Linked DNA regions of Homo sapiens: regions 2 and 3 are each linked to region 1. The links are contacts of gene promoters, found by promoter capture Hi-C in human tissues and cell types (Jung and others, 2019). All regions are on one chromosome and are shown on one strand. Each heading gives the region's core, a stretch centred on a gene start or on the middle of the fragment in contact. The rest is flanking DNA. Distances are from core to core; before and after follow the strand shown. Region 1 holds the start of ABHD16B (abhydrolase domain containing 16B). Region 2 has its middle 15 kb from the start of NPBWR2. Region 3 overlaps GMEB2 (glucocorticoid modulatory element binding protein 2).

Region 1 (2,904 bases), core at 354-2,853:
TCCCCCAGACAGCAGATCAGGAGCACCCCGCGCGCCCCCCCCCGCCCCGCCCCGCGTCGGCGCCGGCCCCCTGCAATGGTTGGCGGTATGGGGAGGTGAACCAAGAAGGCCAGGAGTTCAAGTGCGTGATCCCCCACTGGGGCATATAGGTTACAGCCGCCAGGGCAACTGAAACTCCTCAGGCTCCAGAGGGCTGAAGTGAGTCGCCTCCACGTTCTTGAGGTGCTTCCGAGCCAGGAACAGTGCGAGGCGCCGGCGCCGCCGCGAGCTCAGGCCCTGGCCCACCAGCCATGGGAAGGCGGGTCCGTGTGGCCCCAGGGCCTCCTCGCCCTCCAGCTCCTCTTCGCAGCGTGCACGGTAGGAGCGCAGCAGCGCCAGGCACCAGTCCTCGTCCACGCGGTAGCGTGCATAGAAGGCGGCCTCCTGCGCCAAGCTGCCAGCGCGCAGCCAGCGGGTGACGACGGCGCGGCCCTCTCGCGCCATCACGACGGGGTAGCGGTGCTCCAGCAGGCGCAGCAGCAGCTCATTGCCCCGGTTGCCCTCCACGTCACCAGGTGACAGGGGGCGCAGGCGGCCCGAAGTGCTGACCACGTCATCCTGCGTGCGTCGGAGCAGCAGCACCGGCCCCGGGTAGCAGCACAGCTGCTCGGCCACGTTGAGGTTGAAGTGCTCGCGCACGGTGCGCACCACCAGCCCCTTCCAACTGTGGGGCATGACCTTCAGCGCCAGCGGCACAAGGTCGTCGAAGGTGGCGTCCAGCACCAGTGCACCCAGCTCCGGGTAGGTCATGGTGGCCCAGGTGGCCGTGAAGCCGCCAACAGACCAGCCGTAGACCACCAGGTGCGCGGGCGGGAAGTGCAGGCGGTGCAGTGCGTACTCGACCACCACGTCCATGGCGTTGGCGTCGTGCTGAGGGAAGGGCACGCCAGTGCTGCTGCCGAAGCCGGGGTGGTTCCAGCCCAGCACGGAGTAGCCGGCCTCGAGCGGTGCAGACAGACAGCCCATCTCGTAGAAGCCCGCGTTGCCTTCGCAGCAGATGACGAGGCGCGGCCCGTGCACGTGGCTGCCCGGGTGCTGGCGGCGGTCCATGAACATAGTGTCGATCTCGTTGCCGTCACAGGCCACCAGCTTGGCGCGCCGGCCGTGGTAGCGCTCCACGAGGCGCTCTTGGCCCTGCTGCAGCAGCGGCAGCAGCGCGCGCGTCATCAGGGACACGGAGCCGGGGTACACGAGCCAGCGGCCCAGCGAGTGGGCCAGCGCGTAGCTAGCGAGCTGGCCGGGCAGCTCGCGGAGCTGCTGCAAGAGGCACTGCGCCTGGCTGCGCGCCCCACGTGGAGGCCGCCCCAGCGCATCCCCGCCCAGCGTCTCGTCCCGCAGCAACCACACGCCCGCCGCGGCTGCCGCGCAGGTCAGCGCCCGGTGGCTGCTGCTCCGGCCCACGGCGCGCACGTCATCCCAGCGGAAGGCCACGGGCCAGCCGCGGAATGGGTAGGTGTAGCTGGCGGTCAGGTAGATCTTGAACACGCGCACCAGCGCCTTCACGAAGCAGATGACGCACATGAGCGGTGGCCCTAACGCCCAGCCGCTGGGCCGGGATCGCCGCGAGAGGCACAGGGCAGTCTTAGGGGATACCGGCTCCCGGACAAGCCCTGATGGCCTTTGTGACCTGGCCTTCCAGGGCGGAGGGAAGGCTGCATCCTGTTGCTAGGTGATGGGTGCACAAAGGGTTCCCAGAGATGATGAACCCAAGGTTCTGCCCGTCCCCCGCCTTCGCCAAGACCCCACCAGCTAAACGCTCCCAGGCCCAGCTTTCCCACCCATGATTTGAGCAGCTACTGTCTCCCTCTTTCTTCCTTATTTATTTATTAAATTGAGATGGGGTCTCACTATGCTGCCTAGGCTGGTCTTGAACCCCTGGGCTCAAGCGATCCTCCCGCCTCCACCTCCCACAGTGTTGGGATTACAGGTGTGAGTCCCTGCACCCCGCCTCCACCTCCCACAGTGTTGGGATTACAGGTGTGAGTCCCTGCACCCCGCCTCCCTCTTCCTTAAATTTAAGATGGACAGCCCCACGGGCCAAAAAGGGACAGCAAGGCCTCCTCCGCCTGTACCAGGCTTGCTGTGGGTCCTGCAAGTTTCCCTTCAGGGTCTGCTGGTTTAAACCTCATCTCCCCAGGACGGCCGGGGTCAGAGACAGGGCTGCTGCTGCACCAAAAAGGCGGTATTTGCTCTCGGCCCGGCCCCTCCTCTCCACACCTTCCTTCTTCGGTGCTGACCAGAAACAAGCCCTCTCCTTTTCTGGATCCTCTTTTCACTGGCTGCCAGCAACAGCAGTGACCTTCTGGGGCGGGTCCTGCCTGGCTGGGGTTCCTCTTTCTCGCTCCTGGGTCGAGCCCCCACTCCCAGGCTGCGCCTCCCTCTTTTCTGGAGAGGTATCTTTTCTCCTGCCCTGGAAAGGGCCAGCCCACCTGAGGGCAGGGTCGGAAGCCGCCTGCCAGGAGGAGCCCCAGGGAAGAGGGCAGCTCCAGGTACTCAACAGCTCCCCAGACCAGAAACAAACATGCTACAATCAGGGAGTTTGGCAAATCCAGCCAGAGCCTCTGAGCCCAGGTGCCAGGCCCGCCTGGGACCCCAGCCTTCTGGGGAAGGGGTAGTTTCAGGCTGAAGCACCCCCTCTCTGCTCTCCTGCTCAGCGTCTGGGTTAGAGGCACTGCCTGACCCTAACAGGCCCCGCCCCTAGTTGGGGGAGTCAGCTGCTGCCTTTAGGGGTTGGGGGACAGAAGACAGGGACCAATTAACAAAGGGAGCGATTTGGGGGGCTATTACCCCCATTCTAGGTTGCCAGATAAAATACAGAATAATATGCCAGTTAAATTGGAATTACAAATAAACAAATACTTTTTG
Region 2 (2,893 bases), core at 322-2,821, 260 kb before region 1:
ACCGTGTTCTCCAGGCTTTCTCAGGACCTCTCGAAACCGTGTTCTCCAGGCTTTCCCAGGACCTCTCGAAACTGTGTTCTCCAGGCTTTCTCAGGAAACTCAAAACTGTGTTCTCCAGGCTTTCTCAGGACCTCTCGAAACCGTGTTCTCCAGGCTTTCCCAGGACCTCTCGAAACTGTGTTCTCCAGGCTTTCTCAGGACCTCTCGAAACTGTTCTCCAGGCTTTCTCAGGAAACTCGAAACTGTGTTCTCCAGGCTTTCCCAGGACCTCTCGAAACCATGTTCTCCAGGCTTTCTCAGGACCTCTCGAAACCGTGTTCTCCAGGCTTTCTCAGGACCTCTCGAAATCGTGTTCTCCAGGCTTTCTCAGGACCTCTCGAAACCGTGTTCTCCAGGCTTTCCCAGGAGCTCTCGAAACCGTGTTCTCCAGGCTTTCTCAGCACCTCTCGAAACTGTGTTCTCCAGGCTTTCTAAGGAAACTCAAAACTGTGTTCTCCAGGCTTTCTCAGGACCTCTCGAAACTGTTCTCCAGGCTTTCTCAGGAAACTCGAAACTGTGTTCTCCAGGCTTTCTCAGAACCTCTCGAAACTGTTTTCTCCAGGCCATGGTCATTCATATTGACTCAGAATAAACCTCTTTAAAATATTTTACAGAATCTGTTTTTTTCCATTAACGTTATTGAGTTTTGAGAGTTCTTGATATACTCTGGATACAAGTCCTTTATCAAATATGTGATTTGCAAAAATTGTCTTACAGCCTTGGGCTTGTCTTTTCATTTTCTTAGCAGTGTCTTTGGAATAGCAGAAGTTCTTAGTTTTGATGAAACATCTTATTTATTTGATGGATTATGTTTTGATATCCTATCTAATAATGTTTTGCCTGATCTAAGTTTGCAAAGGTTTTCTTCTATGTCCTCTTATAGAAGTTTTATAATTTTAGCTTTTACATTTAGGTTTATGATCCATATTGACAATATTTTAATATAGTACAAGGTATGGATCAAAGTTCATTTTTTTGCATATGGATATCCAACTGTTTAGCATCATTTACTGAGAACAAAACTTGCCTTTATTGAATTGCCTTTGCAGCTTTGTTGAAAATCACTTGCTCATATTTGTGGGTCTATTTCTGGTATCTCTAATTTGTTCTATTGATCTGTCTATCTTGATGCAAATACCACACTGTCTTTTTTTAAAATATTATTTCTTTTATCATGATACTTCTCTTTCTTCTTTCTTTTTTTTTTTTTTTTTGACAGTGTCTCACTCCGTCACCCAGGCTGGAGTGCAGTAGTGAGATCTCAGCTCACTGCAACCTCCGCCTCCCAGGATCAAGTGATTCTCGTGCCTCAGCCTCCTGAGTAGCTGGAATTACAGGTGTGTGCCACCACGCCTGGCTACATTTTTTGTATTTTTAGTAGAGACGGGGTTTCACCATGTTGGCCAGGCTGATCTCAAACTCCTGACCTCAAGTGATCCACCCACCTCAGCCTCCCCAGGAGCTGAGAACTCTGGCAGGGAGACTCTGTGGTGTAGGAACCCCAGGTCTCCAGCCATGTCTGAAAAACAGTGTTAACCCACGGCTTCACCCCAGCTTTGAAACACCTGGGTGTTCTTCAGAAATACCTGCTATAGTTTGGACGTTTGTCCCCGAACCTCATGTTGAAATTTAATCCCCGATGTTGGAGGCGGGGCCTGGTGGGAGGTGTTCGGGTCATAGGGAAGGATCCAGAATGAATGGTTTAGTGCCCTCCTCATGGTGATGAGTGAGTTCTTGCTCTATTAGTTCCCACACGAGCTGGTTGTTTTAAAAAAATCCTGGCATCGCCCCTCTCTCTCGCCTCTTCTCTTACCATGAGACACCTCCCGCCATGAGTGCACGCTCCCTGAGGCCTCCCCAGAAGCAGGTGCCGGCACCGTGCTTCCCGTACACCCTGCAGAACCGTGAGCCAAACAAACCTCTTTTCTTTATAATGGCCCAGCCTCTATCCTTCTCCTCACCTAGGAAAAAGAAAAAGAAATTACCCAGCCTCAGATATTCCTTCATAGCAACACAAAACTAGGACAACACTGGTGCCCAGGCCCCAGCCCAGACCAAGCACATCAGAGCCTGGGCATGGGGGTGGAACCAGCTCCAGTGAGCTCCTGAAGTCCCCAGGGGATTCTGTGCACATCCAGGGTGGAGAACTTGGCCGTAGACAGTCCAGACAAAAATATTCTTTATACGATTAGCACAGAGTTGTTGTTTAAACTCAGTGGTAAGAACAGAACACAAGAGTTTTAACAGGAGTCATAGTTTTCACCATTAAGAATCTTTACCTACTATTGGAATCCAGGTACACACATTTACCCTGGGGTTTAATTTGCTGTGTAAAATTGACTTGGTTCTTTTACAAATTGCTGGCAAGTTGAGGTTGGGGCCACCACAAAACAAGTCTCTAGCAAGACAAAGAGCATAGTTGTGTGTTTGGGTCTCTCCACACCAGAATGGAGCTCCTTGTGGGCAGAGGCTGGCTTGCCCCTTGTCTTAGTCTGTTTCCTGCTGCTTATAACAGAAACTGGGTAATTTAAAAGAAACAAAATGTATTTCTTACAGTTCTGCGGGCTGGGAAGTCCAAGGTCAATGGGCCACATCTGGTGAGGTTTTCTTGCTGGTGGGAACCCCAGAGTCCCAAGGCAGTGCAGGGCGTCGCATGGTGAGGGGCTGAGCGTGCTGGCTCAGGTCTCTCTCTTCTTATAAAGCTACTAGCCCCACTCCTATGATAACCCATTAATCTATAAATAAATTAATCTATTCATGAGGGCAGAGCTCTTGTGACCCAATCACCTCTTAAAGGCCCCACCTCTCAATACTGCCACATTGGGGATTAAATTCCAACTTGAGTTTTGGAGGT
Region 3 (2,700 bases), core at 191-2,690, 270 kb after region 1:
GCGGATCACTTCAGGCTAGGAGTTTGAGACCAGCCTGGCCAACGTGGTGAAACCCCATCTCTGCTGAAAAAAACAAAACAAAACTGGGCATGGTGGTGTGTGCCTGTAATCCCAGCTACTCGGGAGGCTGGCAGGCAATTGCTTGAGCCCAGGAGGTGGAAGTTGCAGGGAGCTGAGATCACACCACTGCACTCCAGTCTGGGTGACAGAGCGAGACCCTGTCTCAAAAAAAAACAATGACAGAGAATGGGAAGGGCTGGTCCTGACCCCGCTCAGAGCTCAAGCCCCTGATATTGGTGCGTTTCCTCCATGCTCCTCTTGGGGTCTGTGCTTACTGTGTGTTCACTGTGTGTGTGTTCAGTGTGTGTGTGTTCACTGCGTGTTCACTGTGTGTTCAATGTGTGTGTATTCAGTGTGTGTGTTCACTGTGTTCAGTGTGTGTGTATTCAGTGTGTGTGCACTGTGTGTTCACTCTTCACTTTGTGTGTTCACTGTTTGTGTTCATTGTGTGTGTGCACTCTGCATGTGTGTGTGCATGTTTATGTTTAAACACATGTGCCACATGTGCTGCTTTTCCTCCTCTCTCTCTTAATATGTCACAAGAGCAACTTTCCACGCTGGGTGTGTGAAAGCTCATGCGGGGATCTGAGACGGCATTTCCACGCTTGCACGCAGGCCCTGGGTCAGTGCAGGAGGGTCTGAGACGGGATTGCCACGCTTGCACACAGGCCCCGGGTCAGTGCAGACCCTGGGTCAGCACAGGCTGGTGTCTACCCCGAGGGCCATCTTGGGCCCCGTCTCCCACAGACCTCACCTTTGGCGGCCATGTGGTCATCTGGGTTTGTGGCATCAGGTGAGCAGACCTGGGTTGCCACTGACCCAGGGGCCACCCAGATGGTGTGGCGTGTCTGCCCCCATCCCCTGCATGCCGCCATCCATGCCCCCGTCCCCTGTGTGATGCCATCTGTACCTCCCTGCAGCCCTGGAGCAGCAGTGTGATGAGCATCGTCGCCGAGCCAAGGAGCTGAAGCACAAGTCCCAGCACCTCAGCAACGTGCTCATGACGCTGACGCCGGTCTCCCTGCCACCGCCTGTGAAGCGGCCCCGGCTTGCACGTGCCACATCAGGACCGGCCGCCATGGCCTCGCAGGTGCTCACCCAGTCTGCCCAGCTGGCGCTTGGCCCGGGCGTGCCCGTCCCCCAGCTGACCAGCGTGCCCCTTGGTAAAGTGGTGTCCACCCTGCCGTCCACCGTCCTGGGCAAGGGTTCCCTTCAGGCGCCCCCCGCCAGCTCCCCGGCCTCCCCGCTGCTCGGGGGATACACAGTCTTGGCCTCTTCCGGCTCCACCTACCCCAGCACAGTGGAGATCCACCCGGACGCGTCCAGCCTCACGGTCCTGAGCACGGCCGCCGTGCAGGACGGTAGCACGGTGTTCAAGGTGGTCAGCCCGCTACAGCTGCTCACGTTGCCTGGCCTGGGCCCCACCCTGCAGAACGTGGCCCAGGCCTCGCCTGGCTCCAGCACAATTGTGACAGTGCCCGCAGGGGCTGCCCCCGGGCCTGAGGAGCACACGGCCACCATTGAGGTGGCTGCCATGGCAGAGGACCACGAGCGGAAGTAGCCGACAGGAGGGCGAGGCCCCTGGGACGGACAGGGCTGGCTGTCTCTCAGCCGCGGCAGCAGGGAGCGGGCAGAGGCCGCAGGGCTGGCTCGGGCAGGTGGGTCACGTGGTCTGCAGAACCAAAGAGAGGAATCGCCAAAACAAATCACGAGAAGAGAGAAGGGGACAGAACAGCGAGAGCAACCTGGAAAATCGGTCTTCAGGTCCCACGTTTCCTCCCCCTTTTTTCTTGGGAAATATATTTTTCCATCTGTTGCTTATTAATACTGTTTACACATTGGGCCTTGATCAGGAGCCAGGTGGGCGGGGGCTAGGGGGAGCCTGGGTGCAGCAGAGACAGAGGAAGCAGAGCCAGGTGCCGAGCGCGACCCTGCAGGTGCTGGACGCGGTGCAGCAGGTCACGAGGCCCCCATGTCTGCACCCAGCCAGGTCCCTGGGGACGTTACTAACTCATGACTTGGGAGCTAAGCCCAAGTGTGAAACCTCTGGATCCTATGGATTTGGTTTCTTCCCACAGTTTTCTGTAGGTTTAGTGTGGCTGGCGCCCCGTTCTCCTCCAGTTGGGAACATGCACCCGGAGCTTGGGGTGCAGATCCTGATGGGTGCCTGCCTCCCCCGCCCCCAGCCGGTGCTCAGGTGGCCCAGGGGCCGCACAGACGAGGCGTGGTCCAGGCATTGTTGCACATGTACTGAGGGTGTTTTTAAGTGAATTGCTTAGTAGGCTTCTAGGAAGAGTCAGATTTATAGCATTTTCAACCAAAATAATGGTGAGTGCCTAGGCTTCCCGAGTTAGCTCTTTGGGTGGCCCCTGAGCCCCTGTGAGTGCACTTGACCGGGTGCGGAGGTCCTGGGCAGCCTGTCCCTGAGCCGGCCCCTCCCAGGGGTCTGAGATCCATGAGGTGTGTCCCTAGGGCTTCAGTCCTGGGGCAGAGGCATAAACAGAACCAGTCACTATGGAGGTCGAGGATTCCCATGTGGGCCCTTCAGCTTGGGCTGCTTGGCCACGGAACAGCCCTTGGCTCCCTGGCCCCCGGCCCCCATGCAGCCCCTGGGCTGGCCCTTGGTGGTCTCTGTCCAAG

What was found. Contacts are between HindIII fragments. The study calls those that stand out against the background at their distance.
Region 2: a contact is called between a fragment that was not itself captured here and the fragment with the promoter of ABHD16B in region 1, in 1 of the 25 tissues and cell types used here (lymphoblastoid cells).
Region 3: a fragment that was not itself captured here is called in contact with the fragment with the promoter of ABHD16B in region 1 in 3 of the 25 tissues and cell types used here (lymphoblastoid cells, spleen and stomach).

The regions. Positions count from the first base shown.
Region 1 is chr20:63,860,197-63,863,100 of GRCh38, reverse strand. ABHD16B (abhydrolase domain containing 16B) reads right to left here and starts at 1,603. Exons shown (of 1, transcript NM_080622.4): 1 at 113-1,603. The coding sequence starts at 1,560. The coding sequence ends at 151. ABHD16B-AS1 (ABHD16B antisense RNA 1) reads left to right here. Exons shown (of 2, transcript NR_165314.1): 2 at 1-1,886. The HindIII fragment of the contact is 14,540 bases long and covers 1-2,904 here.
Region 2 is chr20:64,120,764-64,123,656 of GRCh38, reverse strand. No RefSeq gene overlaps it. Among named protein-coding and RNA genes, the nearest start is that of NPBWR2, 15 kb to the right of the region's middle. RefSeq lists an enhancer at 1-543. The HindIII fragment of the contact is 5,841 bases long and covers 1-2,893 here.
Region 3 is chr20:63,589,010-63,591,709 of GRCh38, reverse strand. It overlaps GMEB2 (glucocorticoid modulatory element binding protein 2), which reads left to right. Exons shown (of 10, transcript NM_012384.5): 10 at 981-2,700. The coding sequence ends at 1,621. Among named protein-coding and RNA genes, the nearest start is that of HELZ2, 16 kb to the right of the region's middle. RefSeq lists an enhancer at 1,213-1,382. The HindIII fragment of the contact is 3,144 bases long and covers 1-2,700 here.